3 separate regions of the Homo sapiens genome follow, and regions 1 and 2 are each linked to region 3. Evidence: promoter capture Hi-C in 16 types of primary human blood cells and fetal thymus (Javierre and others, 2016). All regions are on one chromosome and are shown on one strand. Each heading gives the region's core, a stretch centred on a gene start or on the middle of the fragment in contact. The rest is flanking DNA. Distances are from core to core; before and after follow the strand shown.

What was found. The method cuts DNA at HindIII sites, captures the fragments that hold promoters and counts their contacts. A CHiCAGO score of 5 or more calls a contact.
Region 1: a contact is called between a fragment that was not itself captured here and the fragment with the promoter of LINC02313 in region 3, in 15 of 17 cell types (naive CD4 T cells, non-activated CD4 T cells, total CD4 T cells and 12 more). The highest score is 31.5, in naive CD4 T cells.
Region 2: a fragment that was not itself captured here is called in contact with the fragment with the promoter of LINC02313 in region 3 in 4 of 17 cell types (naive B cells, naive CD4 T cells, total B cells and 1 more); the score reaches 6.2 in naive B cells.

Annotation. Positions count from the first base shown.
Region 1 is chr14:32,251,615-32,254,787 of GRCh38, forward strand. No RefSeq gene overlaps it. Among named protein-coding and RNA genes, the nearest start is that of RNU6-8, 50 kb to the left of the region's middle. The HindIII fragment of the contact is 2,285 bases long and covers 109-2,393 here.
Region 2 is chr14:32,267,989-32,271,543 of GRCh38, forward strand. It overlaps the pseudogene KIAA1143P1. Among named protein-coding and RNA genes, the nearest start is that of AKAP6, 60 kb to the right of the region's middle. The HindIII fragment of the contact is 6,403 bases long and covers 1-3,555 here.
Region 3 is chr14:31,943,174-31,946,386 of GRCh38, forward strand. It overlaps LINC02313 (long intergenic non-protein coding RNA 2313), which reads left to right and starts at 1,680. Exons shown (of 2, transcript NR_146544.1): 1 at 1,680-1,935. RefSeq lists an enhancer at 962-2,161. The HindIII fragment of the contact is 3,310 bases long and covers 1-2,522 here.

The DNA.
Region 1 (3,173 bases), core at 1-2,500, 310 kb after region 3:
CCAAAAGCCTTTTTGATGTATGTGAGAGCTTTCTCTGTCATATGGGGTCTACCAGTCATTTCAGCAAAGAGTTAAGTGAGGCCAAGGAGGCTTCCCTGGCAGCTTGGAAGCTTTGTGCAGCAGCCAAGCCGCGGGCTGAGAGAGGTGGATACTCATTTGTTTGTATATAAAACTTTCATTCCCAAAGTCTTAGATATCACATACAAGGAAAGATGATTGTGAAAATCAGTGATAAACTCAAGTATTTCTCGCCTGTTATGATTGCATTTGTTGTATCCGATTCTGCCTGACAGTATTTGCCACTTGATTGTCTAAACAGAGTTTTAACTGGTAGCAGGGTGAGCATTAATTATTCACATCTAGCAGCTGGCATAAATATGATTGTGTAGGCCCATGTATGTTAATGAGTCTTACAATAAAGCCTTTCGCTTGGAGATCTTCAGCCCTCCCTTCTTTTTGTACCATTTGTGAACTTCATTCTGGAATTGTGTGGCTTGGTAAGGTATAATGTTCTTTGCTTCTGAGGAACTGTGCTGAGGGCTTGTGCAGAGAGTGGCCCATCTAGAAATGTCTCTCAGGACCCTGAAGGCTCCCTTGTTTCCTTTTCCTGTTTCCAGTCGGGCTACAGCAACTGGGTCTGGATATAGCAACAGCACCCCCTAGTGTATTATAGGGTGAGCATGGGTTCCTGGTTAACTCAGTAAGGTGAGGTGTTCTGGCTTCATAGAGTGGAGTGTGAGAAACTGGCAACTTGGCATTTATTAAACAATATAGTTGAGGCTAAATATGCAACAGCAGCATGTCTTCCAGGTTTTGACAGCTGAGAAAGGAAGATAAAGACAGCAGGAAGATAGGGTTTTAGATTACTTTACAAGGATATGAAGGCTAAGGAGAGCCACAGGAGGGAATCAAGAGGTCACTGGGGAAGGGAGCTGTTCCAATGAATAGTTTGCTATTCTTCCAAAGAATCCAAATCTTGGCCATATGTGCAGAAAGGCCTGGCCACAAAGGCCTTCCATTGTTGGCTGAGACTGGAGACCTGCGATGGGGGTTCAAAGCCTTTTGTTAGATGTGAAACTGAAATTCCAAACACTCCAAGCAGTGACTTAAAGGCTACGAAAGTATAAATGACAGGTAGATATTTACCTCAGAACATAGTTTTGATTAAGGAAACTAGACCTTAAGAGAACAAAATGGGGGTGGGGATGGACTATAGAGAGAAGAAAAGAGGGATGCTTTCTTCATTTTGTTCATTTAACGAATATTTGCTGTTGAGCTGCTATTCAGTGCCAGCTTCTATTCTACATACTGGAAATACAGATGTGAATAAAACAGAGTTTCTCTCCTCATGCAGCTTACATTCTTTACAGTTGCCAATAAGCGGGTCACTACAGATCAGTTCTTATGTTTGTATTTTTGAAGTGTGATTTATTTACAGGCAGAATGTGATTTGAGGACATGGAAAGTACCCATCGTTCAAAATTGTTCCCCACCAACCAACCAGTTTTTTTCTGAAATTTCTCAACCAAAACCCCTTGTTAGTTGTTTTCTGAGAGGAGTAGTAATGAATCCAGTTGCTTTGACCTACACTTACTTCTAGTGAAAATGAATGACCTGATGAGACCTAGAGGGATGGGACACTGGGGGGTGGAATTACAATATTGGGACTAGCAAGCTGTAGCCTTGGTGAGTTTGTTTCAGGACCAAGTTTTCCTTATCTATAGAAGTAGCTGTATTCCTGTCAGGTCCCTTCTAGCTCTTATTCTATTTTGTGTGGCAGATAGCATCCAAGAAGATGTAGGACCGGGTGCGGTGGCTCACACCTGTAATCCCAGCACTTTGGGAGGCCGAGGCAGGCGGATCATCTGGGGTCAGGAGTTTGAGACCAGCCTGACCAACATGGAGAAACCCCGTCTCTACTACAAACACAAAATTAGCCGGGCGTGGTGGTGCATGCTTGTAATCCCAGCTACTTGGGAGGCTGAGACAGGGGAATTGCTTGAACTCGGGAGGCGGAAGTTGCAGTGAGCCAAGATTGTGCCATCGCACTCCAGCCTGGGTAACAAGAGCGAAACTCCATCTCAAAAAAAAAAAAAAAAAAAGAAGGTGTGTAGAGCATGGGGCACCCCTGGGACCCCTGGAAAATTATTTGGGGGTAGGAGTAGGACCAGATTAGACACTGAAAAAAAACATGGAGAAGGAACATGATTTGACAGTCAAATTTAGGCTATTTAAAAAAATATTTCTAGGGCATTTATTCTTGGGTTCAATTTCTGACTATAAATTATCTGGAAGGGAGGGTGATACTATGAATATGGTTTTTGCAGATTTTTTGGGAAAGCCCAGTTGGTTTTACTTTTGTGGGTCAAATTAGTTTTGAAGATTATCTATAAAGCTTTCAGTGATAGACCTGACCCCCAAGCCACAGCTGCTTAAATAGCTGTGTGCTGTGGATTTTCTTGTTGTGCAGTGTTTCCTTTTAACTTTCCTGTTCAGGGCAGAAACAGAGTAATGCAGGCCCATATTCTTTGAATCCTAGAGAGCAAGTGACCTACTTACTATTGTACCTGAAATATTCAACTAGAGTATATTTTAGGAAATACTTTTTCAGCTTTAAACATGACTTTGCTTCTGTGAATAAACACTTCAATCGAGAGACACTGACAGGTATTCTGGGCTGTTCTCCTGACCCGTTGTGTAACTTTGGATACTGTATGACTTTTCTCCTTGGAAAGAGGCAATGTAAAATCCATGGGTTTCTTTAGAAAAGACAATTTGTAACTACACCCTTATAGGTGCATGTGATGAAGATTAGTGAAAGTTTTCATTGGGTTTAGAAATTTTAGAAATGCAGGAGGCCGGGTGCGGTGGCTCAAGCCTGTAATGCCAGCACTTTGAGAGGCTGAGACAGGAGGATTGTTTGAGACCAGGAATTTGAGACCAGCCTAGGCAACATAGTGAGACCTCATCACTACAAAAATTATACAAAATTAGTCGAGAGTGGTGGCACACACTTGTAGTCCCAGCTACACAGGAGGCTGAGGTGGGAGGATCTCTTGAGTCCGGGAGGTTGAGGCTGCAGTGAGCTGCGATCATGCCACTGCACTCCAGTGTGGGCGACAAAGTGAAATGCAGGAGTTATTTGCTGGGTTCTTTAACAGCTGGAAGATGTG
Region 2 (3,555 bases), core at 1,040-3,539, 330 kb after region 3:
TGGATGTGGCTGGTAAGGATCTTAACAAGCCCCCAGTTTGGGCTGACTTTTACTAATGAGGAAAATTATTAGGATTAAGCAGGGTCTTGAGGAATCACCTGTAAAGGCTCAGACTTTAAAGTGCTTCCCCTCCCTTCCCTACCCCAACATTTGGAGAAATCTCTCACTAGATGGCCTTTCAAACAAATGAGAAACACATGGTTCTAGGACAATTGATTATTTGAGAAAAAAGTGTACTCAAATAAATTCCAGATAGAATAAAGGTTAATGTGAATAAACAAAAACAAAGAGAATATGGGTAATTCTTTTTTTAAAATTTATTTCTATTTTTTATTTTTTTTGAGACAGTTCTTACTCTGTTGCCCAGGCTGGAGTGCAGCGGCGCAATCATAGCTCACTGCAGCCTTGAACTCCTGGGCCCAAGCCATCCTCCTGCTCAGCCTCCCGAGCAGCTGGGACCACAGGTGTGTGTCGCTACACCTGGCTATTTTTTATTTTTTGTAGAGATAGGGGTATTGCTTTGTCGCCCAGGCTGGGCTCAGATTCCTGGCTTCAAGCAATTCTCCCACCTTGGCTTCCCAAAGTGTTGGGATCACAAGCATGAGCCATTGTGTCTGGCCTGGGTGATTCTTTATCTGACATAGAGGTTGGGAAACAGAACAACAACAAAAAAATTGATAAATTACATAACTTACAAATTAGTAAGAAAGATATGACCATACTAATGGAAAAAAGTTAATTCAAAAACTTTTGACCCTAAACTAACTTTTTGGATATTAGGCTTCCTGAAGTTCAAGAGTGACATATTAGGCTTATTTGTAATGTTTGAATTATACAGGAAACATTGTCAAGTGTGAAGTGGTGTTTAGCTTCCTTTGGGTTATACTGATAGAGATTTGTTGTTAATATGTGTTCCAGGATTGTATGAGAGTTCTAAAATTCTGATATGTCTTAATATATGTTGTAATGATTATGTTAAATTGTTGTAAGCCACAGAAATAGCCACATTTGTCAACTGTGTCTTTATGGCTGTCTTAAGACTTTTGTCATCCATAATTGATGTTTTGCTGTGATCCTTCTCAAAAAAAAAAAGTGACTTATAATCAGCTACAGTCCAAGGCTTACTTCTTTGGAGTTCATGAAAAGAACTCTTGAATGCAGGTTTCTGGTAACTTTGGAGAGTGTGCCATTGGATTAGACAGAAAACTTCCAAGGCACTAATTGAAAGGCTGATGTGTTCATAAAGATGAATATGAAGTAGAGCAGGAGTTGATTACATGGACTGAAATGAACTAATGGAAGACTGAAATAATTTGTATGGCTTTTGTTGTTTGAAATATTGCTACTTCTTTTTGTTTTTTCAGAGTCTGAATAATCTTTTTATTTTGAGCTATTTATAGCCTTGAAATACACTTTAAGTGTATTGAGTATTCTAATTTCTCCAGAATTTGTAAACTATTTATGAATATTCTTAATTCATGGCATTTGTCTGTATAAAGTTAATAACCACGTTTTCTTTTGTAATAGGGCACAATTGAAACCGGTTACTTTCTCAGGACTTTGACTGAAATGGCCTTGTGAAATGTTCTAGCAAAGCCAATCTAGGAGAGTCTATATGGACAATGATTCTTGTTGCACTTTGTGTGGGTAATCAGGCCCAGTATACGGGACTGAAGTTTATTTTGAAGTTAGGTCGGTTCTGCTGTGATTTGTCTTTGGTGGAAGTGGTAGACTGGAGACAGAAATATTGTATGTCCCTAAATTAATATAGCTCCCAACAACCAATCCCTCATTATACCTTTAACTGCAACCACCAGACACAACGGCTAGGAATAACAGCAGGGGTAGGAATGGGAGTTAGCGGGATTGCAACTTCCCTATCCTATTACCAACGCTTGTCCAAGGATTTTATGGAAAGCCTGGATAACATTGCTCAAAGTATTGTCACCTTACAAATTCAGATAGGCTCCTTGGCAGTGGTCGCTTTGCAAAATTGAAGGGGACTAGATCTCCTAACTGCTGAAACAGGTGGCTTATGTATTTTCCTAGAAGAAGAATGCTGTTTTGATGTCAGCCAATCAGGATTAGTAAGGGACACCACCTGAAAACTAGCTGACTGGGCCTCTAAAATATGACAACAGCTGGGGCACCTAAAGGGCACTAAGTTGGGTTTCATGGCTCCCTCCCTTGGCCAGCCCATTATTAATGATTATATTTGCCTTGGTTTTTGGACCATATTTGTTAAATCTTTTAACCAAATCCATTTCCTTTTGCCTAGAGACCACCAAGTTAGATGATCATGTGACAAGATTTCTAGCCAGTTTCAGGTAAAGACACCACCGGCCATCAAGAAGCTACCCTGTCTCCCCTAGACAAAGCAGGGTGAGAGTTACGTGATCTCCAGTAGGTAGGGACTGTGTCCCAAGTTAGCATGAAGCAGTTACAGAAGAAAGACCCTCAGTCTCTCAGCCTCCCGTAAAGATTTACGAGGATCACGTCTCTCAGGGGGAAAATGAGGCAGGAGAATAGGGTCTGGAGACAGGGAACCTAAGGCTGATTCACATTGACTTCCTAGAACTGAATCAAAAGGAAAACCCCACCTCTCCATACCTAAGTAACAAAAGGATCAGAGGCTACTCCCTTTGCAATCCCCTTGCCTTTTCTGCATTGCAGATGAAACATGAAAGTGCCTCTGATTGGTCCCCTCCTGCAACCAATCAGACTGGTCATAAGCCAAGTCCTCATTTACACAGGAGTATAACTTTGTAACTTCACTTCAGCCTCTGATTGGTCACTTTCTGCACCAATCAGACAGGTCACGGGCCACTACTTCATTTACACAGGGTGTACGCCAAGTAACCAATGGCAAACCTCTAGAGGATATTCATTGCTTTGTGCGTTTTGTTCAATTATTTGTCCAAAATGCCAAGAACCTGGACACCCTCCACCAGTAACAGTTTGACCAGTTATTTATTGTATTACTTAGGACTGCATTTGGCTGCATATAAGAGAAACCTGACCGAGGCCTAATTAAGCACAGTGTTTATTCTTCTCACTACCAAGAAGTCAGAGGTCAGCAATCCAAGCTGGTGTAGCAGCTCCTCCAGGCATGTCAGCAAGGAGCCAAGCTCTGAGTCTTTTTACTAACATGACCCAAAGCACATGGCTGCCTTCCTTATGCCTAAAAGTGGCTCTGGTACTCAGGTTTTATCTCTGCACTCCAAGTAGGATGAAAAGATAAGAGCAAAGGCTCATGCTTGCCAAGTCTGTCCTTTTGTAACAAAAAAACCCAGCAGCTTTATCAAGCAGAATTCCACCTGTATTTCTTAACTTGCCAGAGCTGAGTCTCATGGCCACCCTTAGCAGGAGTTGGGGAGGTATTTTTAACAAAGCACATTATCATCTCCCCCACCCAAAGTGGAGCTATTGCTAATGAAAAAGATACAATGAGATGTTTATGAAATTATCTGTAGCTATTAATGTCAGGTTTTTGAAATTTACTGACCTGGAAGAATACTCATAATGCAATGTCAAGTGAGAAGCAGGACAAAGAAC
Region 3 (3,213 bases), core at 430-2,929:
TGTGTCTTGATGGGGCTTTGTTAAATTGAATTTTAAAATTGTGTTTTAAATATACTTAGGGAAGTACAGAAAGGTACCCCAGAACAGGTTGTTTTATAAAGACAACAATAATTTCTGAATTATTTTCATTTCAGCTTTTTATATACTGTGTAGTCACAAAATGAGAGACCCTCCCCCACTCACCCCACCCTCACAGCTCCCCAGAGGAACAATAGCCATGAGCAAACAGTGCTTGCCTCCTGACCTTCGGGTGTTTCTCCTAAAGGCTAGCTCATTTAAGGGCAGCAGTCAGGGGCTTGCTACTCTTCGCAGCCCTGTTTCTTTTCTTGTGATGAGAAGAAACAAGCCCAGGCTGACAGCTGGCCAAGACTTGAACTAGAATGTTGAAGTTGAAAAGTCAAAATGGGTCTGTGTCAAAGGACTAGCAGAGGGGAAGGGACTGTCCTCCGGGGAGCTGAGGAGTGAGGATGGTCCTCACCTCGATCCAGCGATCAAATTCCCCAAGTAAATCCATGTAAAACATGAACTGTGGCCAGCACTTGTTAAGCAAGGAATATTAAAAATCATTGTCATTACTGCTGCTATTATTGTTACAGGCTTGTTCCAAGACTCTGGGTTTTGGCTCAGCTTGTCTAAATGGTCTTCCATCTTAAGGAATCAAGGGGTAGATTTTGGAACCACTAGCTCCATAGCCAAAGAAGGAGCAATCCAGCAACTTAGGCATTGATTCCGCAAGCCGTCCCAGAGCCTCTGTGTAGTCCTTACTTTCCCTAAATTGCCATGACTAGCTGGCTCAAGTTAGGCCTTTCTAATTTACCTGGACCGTTGCTGTCTCCTGTGCACGGCTGCGGGGATGAGCACCTTGTTGTGCGTTCCTCCGCTGGGCTGACGGAAATGGTTTGCAGCCAGACTGCTACGCCACGCGGTCTGGCATTTAGTCCTCAGAAATCTGATTTAGAGAACGTATACATTGCATCACAATCTAGATTTCAGAGGAAAGTTTTGGATAGAATAACCCAGACCCAAGTCTGGGTAATTTAAAGCCTGGGTGAAATGGGGCAGAAAGAGCCCAGAATATACAGGTCTGAATCTTGGCTGGGGTGATGTGGAAGACTGGAGGCGCCAGACGGCTGGCCTCCCTCCAAGTGTTTACCATGCTGGTGCCATGGGGCTGGGGCTGGGCAGTCCATGTGCTCATTCTTCCCTTCTCTTCTCCTCCTCCTCCCCCTCCATCTCTCCTCCTCCTCCTCATGTTTTCTATAGGCTAGAGAAACTCAGGAACTACTGACCCACAGGGAAGGCAAGCGGAGATATGAGACGGAGGAATCAAACGCTGCCCTGGTGGAGGACGCTGTGGGTTTACAGTGGATGATTTCCTCTGCCTATGAGATAAAAGGGCTGGCTCTGTACTTTGAACCCCAGCCTCACCCACCTCTGCCTGGGTGTGGCTCTTACTCTCTGGAAGACTTACTCAGGGGAGAGGACAGGACAGTGTGAGGCTTGAATCTCCAGGAAATAGAGTCTGTGGGCAGCCATTGACTCCGAGTCAATGAGAACAAGGTGTGCTGTTTCCTCTGTGCTGTTTCTTCCCTGCCCCACTCCCCGCCCCTTTGTCCTATGGTGCCCAGGCTGCCTGCACTGCCCAGATACCACAGGCCTTGCCAGGGACCTCCTGAGAGGTTTCTGAGGCTTGCAGCCAGTGGTCCCGTTAGTCTGCACGTCTCCGAGTTGCCCTCCCAGAGGAGAAAGCATATGCTGCTGGGACCGACTGCAGCTCCTCATGGATGCACCTGCCACCAGAAAATTGTTGTTCAGTCTGGGATTGCTTTCTCTTCCCAAAGCACAATCTCACATGCAGTCATGAGCCCAGTCCAGCCTCTGGGACAGAAGATTTCGTGCTTTTATAAACCAACAGCACTGCAGGTGCTGCACAAGGTAAGTGTCTCCCTTATTTCTTTCCCTCCCCGGAAGCCTCTGTATCAAACTAGGAGTTACCTTAATAGGGTCAAAGGAGGGTGTGGCTGTTTCACTTCCTGTTGTCAGCAGCCAAGTGTGCCTGAGGACAGAGGGTGGTGGGCAGGCATCCATTATGTGTAGGGAGGCAGGTATTGTACTGCTCTGGAACACACTGAGGAAGGGGGGTGCTCTGGCTTCCCTGACACCACCTCCCTGGTCAGGCTGCCGCAAGGCACCCAGATGTCAGTTGTCTTCCCACAACCTAATCATTCACAGCTGCTCCAGGGCCACACTTAGGATCTCTTTCCAGCGGTCCTCTTAGTCTGCCCCAGGGGCATGGCAAAGGAGGGCCTTTCATCCAGGGATCTCACACTCACAGAGACTTCACATTTGGATTTTTAAAAATTTATCTCTGAAGATATGCTAATAAGACTGAAAAGATGGAAATGATCATCAGCTTTAAACTTATGCCTGATTTTGGTACCAGGCCCATGAATTTTTAAGATTAATCCTGCCATTATCCCGTGAATAGGATGGTTATATTACCCTGTGCGTTTTTTTTTTAAAGCTTACACGTGTTAAAGCCTTAATTTATTAAATGTAAACTTCTAAAATATAGTATATCACAATTTTTGAAACCCTATTTGGGGATTTCTTCATTTTAATATACCTGAAGCCTCAGATAATGGGCGTGTCCCTGGTCTTTGTCCTCCAAGCGGCCCATTGGCCACTCCCCTCTTGATGGACTGTGGAGAGAAGCTGTTCCCTTTCCACGTGGTCATTTCAACTTCAGAAAAATCTCAGGTGCAATTGCCTGTTTCATTACAGCAGCTAGCCTATAATGAAAGAGGCCTTCGAAGCTTAGGCATGCCCAGTTTGGCCCCTTTCTTCATTTTACACACTGTTTTCTCCTCCCACAGGAAGGCTTCTCTCTACGGGGCTCAAAGCTACAGGCTCTCCACCATAGGGAAAATGGCCGACTAATATTCTTGAGTTCTTTACCCTTAGGCAATGGGGCTCAACTGTGACTGCACATTGGAATCAGTGGAGAGTTTTCCAAACATCCATCCGATGCCTGGGTTCTACCCCCACAGAACCTGATTTACTTGACCTGGGGTGTGGCCTGGGCATTGGAATTTTTTAAAGCACCCCACATGATTTTAATACACTACAAAGTTTCAGAAACAGTGCCCTAAGACCCTGGTTCTCAAACATTAGAATTCATCAGAATAATGTCCTCGTGGGGAGGGTCTTGTT